Regions from separate parts of the Homo sapiens genome. Here all the other regions are linked to region 1. Evidence: promoter capture Hi-C in 16 types of primary human blood cells and fetal thymus (Javierre and others, 2016). All regions are on one chromosome and are shown on one strand. The core of a region is centred on a gene start or on the middle of the fragment in contact, and the rest is flanking DNA. Distances in the headings are between cores, read along the strand shown.

The links. The method cuts DNA at HindIII sites, captures the fragments that hold promoters and counts their contacts. A CHiCAGO score of 5 or more calls a contact.
Region 2: a contact is called between a fragment that was not itself captured here and the fragment with the promoter of MED6 in region 1, in 2 of 17 cell types (total B cells and naive B cells). The highest score is 6.8, in total B cells.
Region 3: a contact is called between a fragment that was not itself captured here and the fragment with the promoter of MED6 in region 1, in 1 of 17 cell types (naive B cells). The highest score is 7.2, in naive B cells.
Region 4: a fragment that was not itself captured here is called in contact with the fragment with the promoter of MED6 in region 1 in 2 of 17 cell types (fetal thymus and naive CD4 T cells); the score reaches 6.2 in fetal thymus.

Annotation. Positions count from the first base shown.
Region 1 is chr14:70,599,386-70,602,085 of GRCh38, forward strand. It overlaps MED6 (mediator complex subunit 6), which reads right to left and starts at 1,270. Exons shown (of 8, transcript NM_005466.4): 1 at 1,231-1,270. The coding sequence starts at 1,252. RefSeq lists an enhancer at 772-1,971. The HindIII fragment of the contact is 992 bases long and covers 1,125-2,116 here.
Region 2 is chr14:70,776,521-70,779,316 of GRCh38, forward strand. The region is part of intron 2 of MAP3K9 (mitogen-activated protein kinase kinase kinase 9); the gene reads right to left. Among named protein-coding and RNA genes, the nearest start is that of MAP3K9-DT, 31 kb to the right of the region's middle. RefSeq lists an enhancer at 124-203. The HindIII fragment of the contact is 3,380 bases long and covers 1-2,796 here.
Region 3 is chr14:70,824,852-70,827,551 of GRCh38, forward strand. No RefSeq gene overlaps it. Among named protein-coding and RNA genes, the nearest start is that of MAP3K9, 17 kb to the left of the region's middle. The HindIII fragment of the contact is 2,696 bases long and covers 4-2,699 here.
Region 4 is chr14:70,353,776-70,356,475 of GRCh38, forward strand. The region is part of intron 3 of SYNJ2BP-COX16 (SYNJ2BP-COX16 readthrough); the gene reads right to left. All of the region lies in intron 1 of COX16 (cytochrome c oxidase assembly factor COX16), which reads right to left. Among named protein-coding and RNA genes, the nearest start is that of COX16, 4.6 kb to the right of the region's middle. The HindIII fragment of the contact is 8,104 bases long and covers 1-2,700 here.

The DNA of each region.
Region 1 (2,700 bases), core at 20-2,519:
TTTTCAGAAATGGCCTCCTAACTGGTTTTCCTAATTCTACCCTTGCCCTCCTACACTGTTCCCAGCAGCCAATGTAGTCCTAAAAAAAAGTCAGATCACATCATTCCTCTGATGGAAACCCCTCCAATGGCTCTGCGTTTTACTCAGAGGAAAAGCCAAAGACCTTATCATAGCTTTCAACACCTTTCTGACTTCATCTCCTTCCCACATCCTCTCTCACTACCCTCCAGCCACACTGACCTCCTTGCTGTTCCTTTAACACACCAAACACACTCTTATTTTAGAGTCTTTGCCATGATCCTAACAATCTGAATTATAAGTAAAACATTTTATAAACTAAATATTTCTCTTTTTTATTCTGTAGCAAGGCAACATGTTGACATAGCCCAAGCATTCTAACAGCATTCTAACCATCAGCAAGTGATGAAATAAATAATGAAAGACACGTATGTAAAATCATGATCCAGAAGTGCTGCAGATCGCCAGATAAGTATAAATGAGAATATTTGTAATAAATGTGTTAGACCCCAATCCAGTTAATATTAAAAAAAGGCATCTCAAACATCTCCCTTTAAAAATCAAGTACTATATACACAAAAACAACTCTACATGCTCCCCAAGATCAAGCAGCAGTTAAGGGGTGACATCTCCATACATTTATTCACTGACTGATTCAATATTTGAGTACTTCTGCAGTTCAGCTGTGAAAAAAATACGACCCCTGCCCATAATAATTGCTGGACGTTCGATGTAAAGTATTATCGACTCAAAAAAAAAGAAAATATCTGGGATTCATGCTCAGGGACCCGTGTGGCGCGGTCTAAAGAATTAGGCAGCCACCATGCCAAGTCCCAAGAGATGAATCAAATCAAGTTGGCTTATTACCCCATTCCCTTCTCTGCCTAAACGCCATTCCTTCACTCCAATAGAATAGCCCTAATGTTGTTGCAGAGATACGTGTGTAGAACAAAACTCCAGCTCTGAAAGCTCAAAACCCAGAGCTTCTTCCAACCCCTTCTCTCCGACGCTTCCAAGAGACGCTCCAAGAACTCAGAAAAAAAAAAAAACTCGTCAACGTTTCGCTAGATCACAGCCTTGGGTTGTCCACAAAAACCACTCAAAAAAGCTTGAGACTTCACACAAAGGAACCTAAACCTTGAAACCGCGAGCTATAACATCCCAAACTGGTCCACAGACAATCAAGAGACAAAATATAGCAATACAGTATACCTCGGATATCCACCGCCGCCATAATTCCGAGAGCGTTTACAGGTTCTCTTTCCGGCGCAAAGTAAACGTAAGCCTAGGCCGCCGGAAGCAGCGGGTTGAAGAGAGTGCGCATGGGTGAGGAGGGACGTAGAGCGGAAGAGGGGGCGGGGCGGGCAGGAGAGAGGCAGGGGGTGGAGGTGCGGGTGGGAGGGGAGGAGACGCGAGGGGGCGGAAAGCGGGAGAGGCGCGGGAGGCGGGAAACGTGGGGTGGGGTGGGGTGGGGTGGGGTAGGGGAATGGGAGGGGACGGGACGCAGAAAGATTGGTGCAGGGGAGCAGGGAAAGACTAGAAGAGGGATGGGCCAAAGAAGGAGAACGGGAGGGCGGATTACTGGGAAAAAAATTAGAAGACTTAGAGGACAGAAAGACCGAGTGGAGTCCCGCCCCACGCCCACCACTGATGGAAGAATTCTGCCTTGATCGTCTGTGATCGTCAAGAAAACAAATTCTGATGCTGTAGAGTTGTGCTTGGGAGTGTCTCTTAATTTTAAAAGCTCCCCGGGTGTATCCACTGAGCTATCAGATTTAGGAACGATGGTCATTTATATTTTTCTCCCTGCCTCAGGTATTGGGATGGGACAGGACTTAAGAATTTGGGAGTCATTGGCTTTTATGTGACTAAATCCATTAAAAATCTAAACCAATTAAAGAAGCCTCTGAGAAAAATTTCACAACACAGGAAATGCTTCTGAAGTGAAATATTAATAAGATTAAGAGAAAGGGAATACCCCTGGGTCCCAGAGTAATGAGCAAATGTCTGCATTCCAAGTAGTCTGGAGTAGGTAGCAAGGCTCCAAAGAGGGAATGATTCTGTGTACGGGGAAGCTACAGAAAGCCTCAGATTCTCAAGCTTCAGTGTGGCTCTGTAAAAGCAAAACGATACAGAAATATGCAAACAACACACAGATACTAGGAAGAGGATGCCAAAATCTGAAGGAGGGATGAGGGCGGGTGCCTACATCTTCTCCAAAACTTAGGTACTGTGAAGACTCCCCAAGAATTTAACCACAACCCAGGAGCAAGAGGGGAAGACCAGAAATTTAATTGGGATTTTCAACCTCATAGACAAGGAATTAAAAATTTGTTAACTCCGTAGAATAAAAGTACGTTGCCTGTACATTTCAGTTTGGGAATTTTCTGCCTGAGATGGTATGTATAAAATAGGTGTCCCAACAGAAGTATGTGCATGCACAGAGTAAAGTTTTGAGAGAGAATTTTTCAGGAGGGCCTGGTTGGGAGCCTAGTGGGAGGACATTGCAAAAAGGAAGAGTATCGTGTCCAATAAAAAGTGTGATCCATAAAGCTTTTTGTTTTGTTTTTCTAGTTTTTTGTTTCCTTGTGTTTTGATTAGGCTAGAAGGAGATTAGGAAGAATAGTGACAGAATGCAGATCTGTAGATAATAAAACATATGGTATGCATGGTAAATAAGAC
Region 2 (2,796 bases), core at 198-2,697, 180 kb after region 1:
GAGGAAGGTCAGTGGGAGAGCTAGGAACCAAAAACTTAAATGTTCACAAGTGTGAGAAAAAAACTAATAAAGCAAAGGAATCCCTACGATCTTAAAGCTCTGCTCTCTCCGTTAGAGATTCACCCTCAAAATAGGTATATATTTGGCGCTAGCAGTAGCAGGTAGGTCCCATATAGCTGTTCACTCGGGCCCCAAATAAAGCATTCTCAACCTAGAACCTCCACTTTGATTTAAAAAAAAATCCTCTCCCATCAGCCCTTAAGACACTAGGCTATAAAAACTATGAAACACCCTGAACTAAAAGATCTCTCACTTTTTTTTTTTTTTTTGAGAGAAGTCTCGCTCTTGTCCCCCAGGTTTGAGTGCAATGGCTTGATGTCAGCTCATTGCAACCTCTGCCTCCCAGGTTCAAATTATTCTCCTGCCCCTGCCTCCCAAGTAGCTGGGATTAAGGCGCCTGCCACCACACCCGGCTAATTTTTCTATTTTCAGCAGAGACAGGGTTTCACCTTGTTGGCCAGGCTGGTCTCGAACTCCTTACCTCAGGTGATCTGCCTACCTCGGCCTCCCAAAGTGCTGGGATTACAGGCGTGAGCCACCACACCCGGCCAAAGATCTCTCACTTTCTACCCATCTCTAGGGCGCTGTTGCTTCGACCAATGCCCACCTCAAAGGGGTAGTCATTTCTCAGGGGAATCTCCAGTTCCTGCCCCCATCCATATCAAATCACCATCCACTTATCTTTTTTCTTTTCTAAAATGTGTGCCCTATCCAATGACTCATCCCCAGAGCAGCAGAAAGCACTCTTAGACAGTGGTGAGAAAGGCTGAGGCTCATATATCAGAAAGGCAAAGAATAAGTGTCCACTCCAAAACCTCTGGACCCCAGCTCCACTGTTCACCAGCAACCATAGTCAGCCAAGGGAGAAGCATTACTCACTGCTCATTCATCCCAGGAAAGACCCTCCTGACATACTCAAAAGCAGAGGGAATGGTTATTTTACAGAAGGAGGGTCTCCTTGCTCCATCACATCCCAGGGTTCAGAAAGTCTTCCCTATCAAACCAGTCTGATGCTATTAAAAGTAGTCAGGGGATACTGGCTGGAGTCCCAAAGCATAAGGACCACTGGTCACCAGAGAGTCACAAGCCCTGGCAAGTCAACTCTTAAGACACTAGATCCTTGGCTGTGAAAAGATATATCAGGACCATGAGGCCCCACCCTGACTAATGCAGTGTCCACCTAGTTCTCTGCGAAGAGACACCAGCACCATGGGTGGAAAGGGCTAAAGCCTCTAAGACATAACCAACATCCAAGACCAGAATTATAATCAGGACAGAATCCAAGATTTCACTCCAAAAAATCAAGATTCCTCCCAGCCAACACGCATGCCTGAGAATCTACCTACTTTGGCAGAAACTGGTAAAAGATACCAACCACTGTGGTTACTAGAAAAGGTCGACAGTCACCTACACAGAAAAAAGGAAAGGAAAAGAGAGGGATAAATAGATGATCCTATAAAGGAAACTAGGACGGAACCTCTCTCTCTCCCTTTTGTTTTTTGTTGTTTGTTGTTGTTGTTATTGTTGTTGTTGTTGTTTTGAGACAAGGTATCACTCTGTCACCCAGGCTGGAGTGCAGTGGTATAATCTCAGCTCACTGCAACCTCTGCCCCCTGCTGCCTTGGGCTCAAGCAATCCTCCCACCTCAGCCTCCCAAGTAGCCTCAACCACAGGCACACATCACCACGCCCAGCTATTTTTTTTTTTTTTTTTTGAGACGGAGTCCCCCTTTGTCACCCAGGTTGGAGTGTCACGACGCGATCTCTGCTCACTGCAACTCCGTCTCTCAGGTTCAAGCAATTCTCATGCCTCAGCCTCCTGAGTAGCTGGGATTACAGGTATGTGCCACCACACCTGGCTAATTTTTGTGTTTTTAGCAGAGACGGGGTTTCGCCATGTTGGCCAGGCTGGTCTCAAACTCCTGACCTCAGGTGATCCACCGTCCTCGGCCTCCCAAAGTGCAGGGGTTACAGGCATGAGCCACTGCACCAGGCCAAACTTCTCTCATTCTGGCCATATAAGTCTACACCTATAACACTGTCATCATCATTGCTAGCATTTACTGAGCACTTACCACATGGCAGGCACCATGCTAAGCATTTTACGTGCAGTACTTATATAAAAACAGATGTACTGTTTTAATCTCTATTTACGGATATGTACTGTTTTAATCTCTACTTACAGATGAAGAAGCTGTGGCTGAGAAGTGAGGATATTCCCCTGAGCTACCCAGCCAGAAAGTGGTAAAGTGGGGACCACTGGCTACTCTCATGCTCTTGATGATGCCTTACCCTACCCCGTCCACCCATCTTGTTTGAACACCTAACATGGAGGATGCCTGAAACTAGAATGTACAGAGGAAGGGGCTCCTTAGAAGGGGCTCACAGAATAAACAACTGCTCTCTGTGCTGTAACGAGAGGACAGGGTTTGGTCCAGGGGGAGAATCAGAAGAAAGACCACTCCCAGCAGAGGGAATAACGTGAGTCCAGGTCCAAGAGGGCTGAGGGGCCTTGACATATCTAAGAAATAGTCCCTTGTAGCTGGAGCAGAACTTTCATGAGGTAGAAAGGGAGAAGAAGGAGCCGCAGTGAAGGGCTGGGGCAGGACTGGAAGACTACAGACCCTGCCAAGGAACTTGGAAATGACCCTGGAGTCACAAGTAGTTTTTAAGCAGAAAAGTGTTGTGACAAGATTTGAGTTTCAGCAAAACAACTATGGTTGCAGTGAGACAAATT
Region 3 (2,700 bases), core at 102-2,601, 230 kb after region 1:
GGAAGCTTCTCACAAAGGCAGTGTCTACCTCAGCTTCTTTCTCCTTTCTCTCCCATCAAACTCAAATGTGAGGCAGCTAAGAAAGTTGAGTCAGCTCCTGAGAAAATTCAGGTTTTAATAACCTGCCTTCCTTAGGTGCTTGTCCAACTCCTCTGGCAAGGACCCTTCTTGGAGGGCTGAGATTGTTTTCCTGGAGGCCACCAGACTTCAGGCTTCTAACCTCAGAGCCTGGGTGCTTTGTCTTACAGCATGGTCTTTCTGAGCTGCTGGAGACCTCTCAGGTGTGAACCTAGTCTAAGCCACCATATAACTGGGGTTCCAAAGGCTTATCTCTGTTGTTATGAATCATCCACTGGATACATAGAGGGATGATAACTGGTTGCGGATCATTAGGTTCCTGTCCCTAGAGTTGTGTGTCCCAAAGCAAGCCACTCAGCATTCTGGACCTCAGGTTTTTTTCTGTCTTCCTCTTTCTTTCTTTCTTTCTTTCTCTTTCTTTCTTTCTTTCTTTCTTTCTTTCTTTCTTTCTTTCTTTCTTTTTTCTTTCTCTCTTTCTCTCTCTCTTTCTTTCTCTCTTTCTTTCTTTCTTTCTTTCTCTTTCTTCCTTCCTTCCTTTCTTTCTTTCTTTCTTTCTTTCTTTCTTTCTTTCTTTCTTTCTTTCTTTCTTTCTTTCTTTCTTTCTTTCTTTCTTTCTTTCTTTCTTTCTTTCTTTCTTTCTCTGACAATTTCTCTCTGTCACCCAGGCTGGAGTGCAGTGGCATGATCACTGATCACTGCAGCCTCAATCTCCCAGGCCCAAGGTATCCTCTTGGCTTAGCCTCCCAAGTAGCTGGGACTAGAGGCATGCATCACTATGCCCAGCTTTTTTTTTTTTTTTTTTTTTTTTTAGTAGACACAAGATTTCACAAATGTTGCCCAGGCTGGTCCCAAAGTCCTGAGCTCAAGTGGTCCTCCCTCCTTGGCCTCCCAAAGTGTTGAGATTACAGGCGTGAGCTACCTCGCCCAGCCTGGACCTCAGTTTTCTCATCTGGAAAACAGAAATTCAATTTAAGAAATATCAACTAAGGGAGGCTGAGGCGGGAGAATGGCTTGAACCCTGGAGGCGGAGGTTGCAGTGAGCCAAGATCGTGCCACTGCACTCCAGCCTGGGCAATAGAGTGAGACTCCATCTCAAAAAAAAAAAAAAAGAAAAAGAAAAGAAATATCAATTAAATGCCCATCATGTACAGAGCCCAGAGCTAGGTGCTAGAGATCTAAGTGCAAAGGTAAAAAGATATAATCTACGCCCTCAATAAATGTAAAGGCAAATAGAAGAGATACAATTTTTTTTTTTTTTTTTTTTGAGACAGGGTCTTGCTCTGTCGCCAGGCTGGAGTGCAATGGCACAATCTGGGCTCACTGCAACTTCTGCCTCCCAGGTTCAAGCAATTCTCCTGCCTCAGCCTCCTGAGTAGCTGGGACTACAGATGCATGCCACCACACCCAGCTAATTTTTGTATTTTTAGTAGAGACAGGGTTTCACCATGTTGGCCAGGACGGTCTCGATCTCTTGACCTCGTGATCTGCCCGCCTCAGCCTCCCAAAGTGCTGGGATTACAGGCATGAGCCACCGTGCCCAGCCGAGATAGGAATTTTTAAAAACAGACCCACAGCAAGGTGAAATAAAGTAGATGTGAAGTAAGAATATTAATACCTGTTTTGCCTACCTCATAAGGTTGTGCCAAGAATCAAATGAGATCATGGATAACAAGTATCCTTAAAGCACTATGCAAATGTAAGCAAGTAGTAATTATTATTTGGCTTTGCGGGAGATACCAATTGGGTTGTTTGCCTGAATCTCCCCTTTTTCCCAAGAACTGCTCCTATAGCCAAATCCACATGATAACAGTGGATTGCCAAATCCACATGATAACACCTCCTCAGGTGCCATTTTGGTTGATTGAGCCAGGTGCAGACCCCAGGAATGGGAATGAAGGTGGCTCAGTCTCAGTCACTCTGGGCTCTTGAGCAGAGGAAATACAAACACTGGAGGCTTAGAAAGCTATTTTCTGACTAGGTGGACTGAAAATTTAAAAATACCAAATTGGGCCAGGCACGGTGGCCCACGCCTGTAATCCCAGCACTTTGGGAGGCTGAGGCGGGTGGATCTCCTGAGGTCAGGAGTTCAAGACCAGCCTGGACAACATGGTGAAACCCCATCTGTACTAAAAACACAAAAAATTAGCCAGGCATGGTAGCGGGCACCTGTGATTCCAGCTACTCGGGAGGCTGAGGCAGGAGAATCTCTTGAACCCTGGAAGGTGGAGGTTTCAGTGAGCTGAGATCATGCCACTACACTCCAGCCTGGGCAACAAGAGTAAAACTCCGTCTCAAAAAAAAAAAAGAAAAGAAAAAAAAAACCCAAACTGCATCCAGAGAAAGCATGTAGACGTTCAGAGAGGAATGAAAACAAGAGGCTCCCTGTCATTCAGGCCTTGGTTCCCATCTGTCCCTGCCTGCTGTAAACAATATCCCACCAAGGGCCAGCTTTTGCTAAAGATAGCTCTGGTGGGCTTCAATCACCATTAAACAGTTCCTAAACTAATTCTGCTAAGGCTAATGTAGAGCAGAAGACTCCCTTGGCCCATGTAACAGCTGTGTCATCATTCATTTACTCATCCCATCAGTCAATGAATATCATTGAATGCCAGCTGTTTACAA
Region 4 (2,700 bases), core at 71-2,570, 250 kb before region 1:
GTGCTGGGATTACAGGCGTGAGCCACTGCGCCCGGCCCCTACCTTCCTTTTTTTTATAAATATATTTATATACCAATTAAAGAATTAAATATTAAAAGGTATAAAACATAAATGTTTATAATTTTGAAGTTGAGAATACCAACAAAACCTTGAGGTTATGAATTTCATTTTTTTTCCCATCAGAAGATTTTATCATCAGAGGCTATAAATTTCAAAACCAAGTATATGTGACCACATAAAAATTTAAAACTTCTGGGTGGGTATGGTAGCTTATCCCTGTAATCCCAACTACGCCGGAGGCTGAGGTGGGAGAATCACTTGAGGCCAGGAGTTTAAGACCAGCCTGGGCAACACAGCAAGACCTCCTCTCTTAAAAAAACAACAATAATAATAATAAATAAAACTTCTATGCTGACAAATAAATGAAATAAAAACAACATAAAATCAAAAGAGAACAAATCAGAAAAAATATCTGTTATAGATAAGCAGCTAATACCTGCAATGTCAAAATGTAAGATTTGTATACGCAAAATAACTTTTGTTTCAGTTTCAATGAAAAGATACAGGCAGGCCATGCTGAAAAGTCCAGCCATGTGACTAGAGGGCTGGGGCTTTGAGCTATGTGATATCAACCCAACCTCCAAACCTCAAGGGAGAAGAGGAGAGCTGGAGACAGTTCAGTCACATGGCCAATGGTTCAATCACCCATGCCTATATAATGAAACCCCAGTAAAAATTCTGGACAGTGAAACTTGGTTGAACTCCCTGGTTGGTAAACACATCAATGTGCAAGGAGGGTGACATGCCCTGATCCCATGGGGACAGAACACAGAAGCTCTGCATGCAGGACCCTCCTGGACCTCGACATATGAGTCTCTTTTTTTGGCTGTTCCTAATTTATATCCTTTATAATAACACTGTAATCATAAGTATAGTATTCTCCTGAGTTCTATGAGTAGTTCTACTAAATTATTGAACCTGAGGGGGTGGCTTAAACCTGGGGTTATGCCTGGTGTAGGAAGTTAGGGGAGTTTTGTGCAGGACTATGCATAGAGTGTGTGTGTGCGTGTGTGTGTGTGTGTGTGTGGTGTTTGAATTGCACTGCAACACTTACTGCCTGTTACCATAGAATCCACACTCCTAACTAAATATCTTCATTTATCTCCAATCTTCTCTTATCTACTGAAGGACACTGATTCATCAATTCTCTCCTTTCCTGTATCATCAAAATCTTGCTCACCACTGCAGGATCCAGCATAAAAATGCTATTATTTCTCCTATCTTATTAACAAACTTTCCTGGACACCACTTTCCCACCAGATACCAACCTCTTTCTTTGTTCCTATATGCAGAAAAATTTCTCAAATGAGTTGCCTATACTAGCTGCTCTTCCTACTCTCTCTTAGATCCATTCCAACCATCAATGACATCCACATTACTAAATCTGGTGATTTACTTATTTTCATCTGATTTCATGAATAAAATTTCATACAATTGATCACACTCTCCTCCTCTTCCCTCATATCTGGTTTTTCTTTTGCCACAGAGTCACTCTTTCTTAGTCTCCTTGATTGTTTCCTCCTGTATACCTCAACTCTCCAATGTTGGCATACCTCAGGGCACAATGTTTTCTCTTCTTCTCTATTCACTTATTTTGTAATCTTAATCAATCTTATGGCTTTAAAAGCATATGTTGATTACAACATTCCATACAGACATGATCAAGCACGAATCCCAGTACCACCGGGTGAACAAAGCAGACCAGATTAGTACTGCAAAATCTGGAACCTAAGTTCCAGGAAAGGGAGCCCAAAATATTATAGTAGGCTACTGCCTACAAGTTAAACATGACGACATCCTGCTAAACTAGAAGACTTAAATAGGATATCATTTCCTAATATTTAAAATGTTCAAGATATAATACAAATTCCATTGTCATGACAAGAACCAGGAAAATAACTTTACTCAAGTTTGGATATTTGACCCTCCAAACCTCCTGTTGAAATCTGACCCCCAATGTTGGAGGGAAGGCCTAGTGGGAGGTGTTTGGGTCATGGGGACAGATCCCTCACGAAAGGCTTGAGGCTGTCCTTGTGGTAATGAGTGAGTTCTCACTCTATTAGTTCCCTTGAGAGCTGGTTGTCAAAAAGAGCCTGCCACCTCCCTCCCCTCTCTCTTGGCATGTGATCTCTGCACATGCTGGCTCCCTTTTGCCTTCTGCCACAAGTGGAAGCAGCTTGAGGCCCGCACCAGAAGCAGATGCTGTGCCGTGCTTCACAGTATGTACAGCCTGCAGAACCATGAGCCAAAAGAAAATTCTTTCCTTTATAAATTACCCAGCCTCTAGTATTCCTTTATAGCAACAGTGGTCCCCAAACTTTCTGGCACCAGGGACCAGTTTCATGGCAGACCATTTTTCCACAGATGGTGGCGGGGGTGGGGGGTGGGATGGCAGTTTGGGGATGAAACTGTTCCACTTTAGATCATCAGACATTAGATCTCATAAGGAGCATGCAACCTAGATCCCTCACATGTGCAGTTCACAATAGGACTCGTGCTCCTATGAGAATCTAATGCCACCTCTGATCTGACAGGAGGTGGAGCTCAGGCAATAATGCCCACTCACCTACTGCTCACCTCCTACTGTGCAGCCCAGTTCCTAACAGGCCACAAACCAGTACCAGTCCGTGGCCCAGGGGT